Linked DNA regions of Homo sapiens: region 1 is linked to region 2. Evidence: promoter capture Hi-C in human tissues and cell types (Jung and others, 2019). All regions are on one chromosome and are shown on one strand. Each heading gives the region's core, a stretch centred on a gene start or on the middle of the fragment in contact. The rest is flanking DNA. Distances are from core to core; before and after follow the strand shown. Region 1 holds the start of ACR (acrosin). Region 2 holds the start of KLHDC7B (kelch domain containing 7B).

Region 1 (3,456 bases), core at 58-2,557, 190 kb after region 2:
CAGATGGGGGCAATGAGATCTCCCAACACTCTGGTATACCGGTGGAGACTTCAGAACATTCATATAGGTAAAATACAACCTCTTGACATTCAGCTGGAAGATGTAAGACCTCTTGATTTTCAGGTAGAGAAAGTGCGACAGGGTGACACTTGGGTGGTGGAGGTGAGAATTCTTAACCTGTAGGTGGAGGCGATGAGGGCCTCTGGCACTGAAGTGGAAAAACAGAGTTGTTATTTCTTTCAAAGAAGGAGGTGATCACTCCCTGATACTGGGTAAGATATACGAGACCTATTGAACATTCATTTGAGGATGTCATAAGTACGACATTCAGTTAGAGAAAATAGATAAATCAAGATCATCTGATAATCTGAAAACTCAACACTCAGGAATAGGAGATGAGATGTCCTGACACTCAGGTTGGAGGCATGGGACCTTCTGACACCCACTTAGATGATGTGCAACCTATTGACCCTCGGGCTGGTTGAGATCTTACATTCAGGTAGAAGAGGTAAGGCTGCCCTCATGCAGGTAAGAGTGTGACCTCCTGACACTTGCAGGCGATGGGAAATGTTTTAACATTCAGGTGTTTGCAATAAGCATTTGTCACACTCTGGTAGGTGAGATGCTAGTTCCTGATGATCAGATGGGAAAAATGATGCTTCATGATATTCAGGTAGCTGTATGAAAACTCTTGACATTCAAGTATAGGAGAAAACACCTTGCTCCACCTCAGTCACAGAAAGCCGATCTGGAGACATTCAGGATAATAGGAGACCTTGTGATATTCAGCAACGGACAGGAAGGTGGGCTTTGCAGTTGTAAATTAGGAAAATTCAAAATGACTCTTGGAAAAGTGTGTTGATAGCATTCACTTGGAAGAGGAAAAGAAAACTTCCCCAACAACAATTAAGGATCAATTAATCTGCTGACCCTGACTCCTCTGATCCACAAACATGTTGCACCGTCTCATCACTGAAGGGCTGAGCCGCTCCTCAGTCTGTGAGTCTGCAGTGGTCACAGCACGCATGAGAGGCAGACTCTGAACCTGCACAAAGCCAGAGCCTTGGGTGATGTGGGGACCTCGCAAGAGTTACTGGGAATGGAGATCCTGGCCTTGGGACAGAGGGAGTGGGGCTGCACAGGAGTCCCCCATCATCCTGGTGGTGGGGGAGCCTATGCAGGAAGTCAAGAAGTCTCTTCAGCACAAACCAGTTAAGGCGAGGGGCTCTTACCTGGCCTGACTGCTGGGGGTGGGGTGGGGGTCACCCCTGCTGATTGGCCAGGCAGCCACGGAGCTTTGTGAGGTCACTAGGCTTGCAGGCCAGGCAGTGCCAGGAGTATGGTTGAGATGCTACCAACTGCCATTCTGCTGGTCTTGGCAGTGTCCGTGGTTGCTAAAGATAACGCCACGTGTGAGTAAGTGTCGGGGCACCTTGGTGGGGGAAGGATCTTCTGAGGAGCAGGTACCACCCCGACTCCCTCTGTCCAGGGCTAGGGAAAAGGAGGCTGCATCCCTAACCTGGACCCCCCCTGCTCCCAGAATCAGCAGCCTGGAGCCCCCAGACCCTCAGCTTTCGTGGTTTCCTCCAGAGATGGACCCCTCAGCACCTCAGGCTCCTTGTGCCTCTCCCACTCCCCCAGGGACTGACCCCACTGTCTTGAAGACATGAAGTCCTGATTTTGGGAGCCCTTATCCCCCCACAGACAGCTGTCCCAACCCGTGGTTGCCCCCAACAGCCCCAGGATATCATCGCTTCACACCGCTTGCACCCCTACCCCCCAGTAGGCTCTCTCACTCCAAGGTACCCCGAAATACCAACACCTCCCAAGCTATATGTGGCCTCCCACCCGTGACACAGTTCCCAGAGCCTCCACCTCTAGACCTCCACTGCTCTCAGTGTGCCCCCTACACCTGTGGGCCACAGTATCTGCCCCTGGCTGCTATCCCTCCTCCCATCACTGTCAACGACCCCCTTCATCACCTGACTTCCCTGAGTCTCCCACCCAAGATTGGTTATAAGGACCTCAGGCCATTACACCCCTCTGTCCCCAGGCCCCGCATCCCCACCTCTACCCTCCTGTTCTGCCCAGGGACGGGCCATCCCTCAGGGCCCATGCAGCCTGTCCTGGCTTCCTATGGCCTCCTCTTTCTCCATCTGTGACTGCACCCACAAGACCTGAGAAGTCGTGGCCCCAGAACCATTTCCTAGAGCCTGCGGCTTCCTACATAGCGCAGGCTGCCCCTGCTTTCCCAGAACCCGGAAGCTCTTCCCCACTTTTCCCAACCCCATGTCCCTGCCTCCCCTCAGTTGTGGAGTTACAAGGACAGGCTGTGCTCATGCCAGGTTTGAACTGTGCTCTGGTCTCTCCCCAGTGGCCCCTGTGGGTTACGGTTCAGGCAAAACCCACAGGGTGGTGTCCGCATCGTCGGCGGGAAGGCTGCACAGCATGGGGCCTGGCCCTGGATGGTCAGCCTCCAGATCTTCACGTACAACAGCCACAGGTACCACACATGTGGAGGCAGCTTGCTGAATTCACGATGGGTGCTCACTGCTGCTCACTGCTTCGTCGGCAAAAAGTACGTGTAGGGATGCACTGAGGGAGGTCTTCAGAACGGCTCTTCTCAGAGAGGGGCGTTCCCCGGGGATGCTGTGCAGCGTCTCCCTGGGGCTCTGGGCCAAGTGGCTGCAAGACTCCGGGGGCTGGTCCAGACCTTTGCTAGGGGAAGGCCCTGAGGGTCGCTGTCACCAGGCTTTTGTCCAGCCGGTTGTGACCTGGCTTACCTTTGTGCCCACAGTAATGTGCATGACTGGAGACTGGTTTTCGGAGCAAAGGAAATTACATATGGGAACAATAAACCAGTAAAGGCGCCTCTGCAAGAGAGATATGTGGAGAAAATCATCATTCATGAAAAATACAACTCTGCGACAGAGGGAAATGACATTGCCCTCGTGGAGATCACCCCTCCCATTTCGTGTGGGCGCTTCATTGGGCCGGGCTGCCTGCCCCACTTTAAGGCAGGCCTCCCCAGAGGCTCCCAGAGCTGCTGGGTGGCCGGCTGGGGATATATAGAAGAGAAAGGTGAGTATGGGAGCGCCTCCAAGGGGGGACGCTGCTGGCCATTCTCCTGGTGGTCTTTGAGGTGCAGCGGTCACTTGTTGACACCCAGCCAGGCTGCTTTCATCCTCCTCACGGCGCTACACGTAGAGCCATCACTGTGGCCTTCCACAGTCCCCTGTGCCAGGTCACGTGATGGGTGACTCGTCTGGCTGTCTACGGGGGGGCTGACAGCAGGTGCAGGCAGAGCGCAGCGTTGCTTAGAATGGGGTTGAGGCTGTGTCTGTATTTGGCACCTGGGGCCCAAGCTGCTGGATCCTGGAAACAAGCAGCAACCCTGAAACAGCCTTTGGAGAAGAGCTCCAGATAAGGTTATGTGGCCGTATGACAGTGCCTTCC
Region 2 (3,436 bases), core at 907-3,406:
TCCCAAAGTGCTGAGATTACAGGTGTGAGCCACCACGCCCGGCCAAAAGCCTTTATTTTTTGCCTTTTCTGCTTTTAACCATCCTCCTTTTTGGGGGGTTGGGGGGACCTAGTTATTAACAGAAAAAAACCCTTTGCTGGTGTCTTTTTTTCTTTTTTTTGAGATGGAGTCTGGCTCTGTCACCCAGGCTGGAGTGCAGTGGCGCGATCTCGGCTCACTGCAACTCCCCGGGTTCAAGCGATTCTCCTGCCTCAGCCTCTGGAGTAGCTGGGATTACAGGCGCCCGCCACCACGCCCGGCTAATTTTTCTATTTTCGGTAAAGACAGGGTTTCTCCCTGTCGGCCAGGCTGGTCTCGAACTGCTGACCTCAGGCGATCCAACACCTCGGCCTCCCACCTCGAGGCGATCCGACACCTCGGCCCAGGTCGCACTTTTTTGCCCGTTTTGATCCCATCCTCCAACTGCGGCCACAGCCGGAAATGTAGAGAAATTCGCGCTCCTGGGGCCGGCGGGGCTGGCGCTGGCTCACCCGCTCCCCGGGCCCTCCCAGTCGCCAGGTTTGCGCTCGGAGCCCAGGGGCTGCGGGTTCACAGTTCGCCCGCGAGTCGCTGTCAACCCTCCAGGCGCGGCCCGGGGGCGCTCGCGCGCGCTGCCAACGGAGCCATCCCTGACGCGTTCTCAGTCTACGGCAGAAAACGCCAGTCGGCGCCGGACCGTGACTCCAGGGTTTCGCGGAAATAAATTTTAATCCAGTTTTGAAGCCACCACTTGGAGTTCCAGGGCAGTTGCACCCCGGGGGTGCGCTGCCGCCACCGCTTCCCGCCCCCTACTCAGTCTCTAATATTTATGGGTGTCATCTCCATCCTCTGAAGGTTTCTGGACCCCAAACTTAACCAAGAGGCAGAGCCTGAGACTGGGACAGAGAATAAGGGCACGGTCTAGAAAGCCTTCCCTCAACTTGAGGTCCACCTTAAGGCATGGGGCCCACCCTCACCCTCTCCCTGTCATCTAATAGTCCCAGGGGGAGCTGGGAGGTGAGTTACCTGAGGCTCAGTAGGGTTCAGGCTGGGTGCCAGGGACACTCCTAGGCCATCTCCTTGCTGCTTGAGTAAGGGAGAAATCCCCAGGCCTGCTGTGTCCCAGAGGAAGGAAAAATACACACGGTACTTTCCAGGGAGCCCTGCCTTTGTCCCAGGGACTCCAGGCTCTTTTTCTTGTCTGAGCCTCACCTGGCACCTGGCCCGAGACACTCCTGAGATGGGATTAAGCAAGGAGCAGGTGGAGGAGCCCAGGCTTCTCCCTCAGGAAGCAAGTGCTCACATCCAACAGAAGTACCTACATGCCGGCCTGAGCCAGGGCTAGGAGGTACCAGCCAGGATGTGGTCTCGAGGGCGAGTCCTCAGCTCAGATAAGGGAAGGCTGAGGACTGAGATGAAGACACCCAGAGTCTGGCTATTAGAGCACCTGGGGCCAGAGGGGGGTGGTTTCTAAGGGATCCAGGTGCTGGCTGATGCGGTAACTGGAGTAGGGGGCAGGCTGGGCTCAGGGTTCTCCAGGGGCACAGTGAGAGTCTCATCTGGGCAGTCAAGACACTCTCGATGGGCGCAGGGGGTCCAGGAGATCCTAGAAGGTCTAGGTGGGCTGAAATAAGCCTGGCCATAAAGAGAGAAATATGTTTGGATTTTATTTATCCCATTAATTTTTTTTTTCTCTTGACTTGATAACCCTATCCCATGTCTGGTAAACCCAGAGTAAGGAGTCCAAAAGCTGCTGGAGGAGGAGCTATGGGAGCCTCAGTCTCCTCTCTATGCCCCCTCCCTGTGCCCCAGTACAAACCTCCACAGCACCCCTGCAATGATAATGCTCACTGCCAGGACCCGTGTCCAGGGTCTCCCTCTTCAGCCTGAGAGACCACCGTCAGGCACAGCCTGCACCCTCCCGTGCACGGCCCCCACCCCTCCCCTGCTGGCCCACAGTGGAATCAGCCTCTCCGGTTTCTGGTGATTTCATCAGGGCCACATCACATTGCTAGAGCTAGAGATAACATCTCCCTGTGGGTAACCCTTCCCTGCCAAGCCCCCTGAAGCTGGGCCCAGGCTGAGAGGAGGGACTGTGGGGTGTGGAATAAATTTAGGGGTGTGAGGGTCTACCAGGCAGAAGCAGGTTGGCTGTGATGACAGCACAGAGCTCAGGAACGCTGCCTGAGGACCCTGGGGCCTACGAGGAGGAGAAGAGGGCAGGAGCTGGTGGGGTGCTTGCAGAGACCCTGGGCTCCTATCCTGCCATAAGCCTCGCTGTCTCCTGATATCTGCAGCCAGGCCCTACTGACACCCCCAGGCCTGAGTGCAAGCAGAGACCCCACCATTCCCAGGCCCTGGAGGACTGGTCCACCTTAACTGGGCAGCCCTTGGGGCAGGCGCTGGCCGGTGCCTCAGCCCAGGCCTCTGTGCTCTGCATGCACTGCCAGCCTGCCATCAGGCCTCTATTGCAGCCCTGAACCATGATCCAGGGCACCTTGGAGCCAGATGGTCCCCTCTGGGGCTGGGACTGGGACAGTGACAATGACTGGGATAGTGCTGTGCTGGCCCTCCTGGCGCTGGCTGTGGTGGCTGCCACAGCGCTGGCCTTACACTGGTTTGGCTCCGGGCACGATCAAGAGGCGGCAGAACCGGTGTCCACAGCCCTCGGGGCTCAACCTCATCAGGCAGGAGGAGCTGAGCTGGCCCTGCAACCGAAGTCTAAGGTCAGTGATGGCAGCGAGGGGCAGAGCCCAGGGCAGGGGAAACCAGAGCCCCCAGGACGCGGCCAGCAGAGCCCTGTCCCTGCTGCAGCGCCGGGCGGGGGCCTGGCCGCCATGGCCCGGCTTCCACTCAAGACGGCTGTCGAGGAGGCCCGCAGAGAGGCATTAGGACAGCAACGGGGCAGTGCCACCCCCGCGGCCCCCCGAGCGGAAGGAAAGGAGCCTCCCAGGCCAGGCACTGCCCTCCTGGGCAGGAGCGAAGCAGGGGGGATGTCCGCCCCCCTCCTGATCCACTTCACTCCTCGGAGCCCTGGCAGCGAAGCGGAGGCGGAGACAGGTGGTGTCAGGGCGTCCTCTCGCCAGGCCGCAGGCCCCGCGGGGCAACAGGACACTGGCCCCTGGCAGGCGGGCGCGGGGCCCTCGGGCTCGATGGGGAGAGGCCGGGGCCGGCGGCGGCGGATGGACGCTGGCTCGGGAGACAGAGCCCGCCGCCCCCGGAAACTGGACCCGCTCCGCCTGGGCGCCGCGGGGAGCGTGTGGGACGCGGTGGACGGGGCCGCCGCCCTGGACGCCCACGCGCGCGGCCTCCCCACAGGACCCCCACTCGCCCAGGAGCCCGCACTCCCGGCGCTGCCCGCTCCCCGCGCCCTGCAGCCTGGGTCTCAGACGGAAGGCTCTGGGGCCAAGGGTGGCTG

The links. The method cuts DNA at HindIII sites, captures the fragments that hold promoters and counts their contacts. A contact is called where the count stands out against the background at its distance.
Region 1: the fragment with the promoter of ACR here is called in contact with the fragment with the promoter of KLHDC7B in region 2 in 2 of the 25 tissues and cell types used here (H1 embryonic stem cells and dorsolateral prefrontal cortex).

Annotation. Positions count from the first base shown.
Region 1 is chr22:50,736,897-50,740,352 of GRCh38, forward strand. It overlaps ACR (acrosin), which reads left to right and starts at 1,308. Exons shown (of 5, transcript NM_001097.3): 1 at 1,308-1,416; 2 at 2,375-2,578; 3 at 2,798-3,081. The coding sequence starts at 1,340. It overlaps LOC105373100 (a long non-coding RNA gene), which reads right to left and starts at 1,273. Exons shown (of 2, transcript NR_134637.1): 1 at 494-1,273; 2 at 1-208. RefSeq lists an enhancer at 2,805-3,456. The HindIII fragment of the contact is 13,172 bases long and covers 1-3,456 here.
Region 2 is chr22:50,543,743-50,547,178 of GRCh38, forward strand. It overlaps KLHDC7B (kelch domain containing 7B), which reads left to right and starts at 2,157. Exons shown (of 1, transcript NM_138433.5): 1 at 2,157-3,436. The coding sequence starts at 2,502. It overlaps KLHDC7B-DT (KLHDC7B divergent transcript), which reads right to left. Exons shown (of 4, transcript NR_199716.1): 2 at 2,632-2,726; 3 at 1,045-1,653. RefSeq lists a silencer at 478-772. The HindIII fragment of the contact is 12,740 bases long and covers 1,784-3,436 here.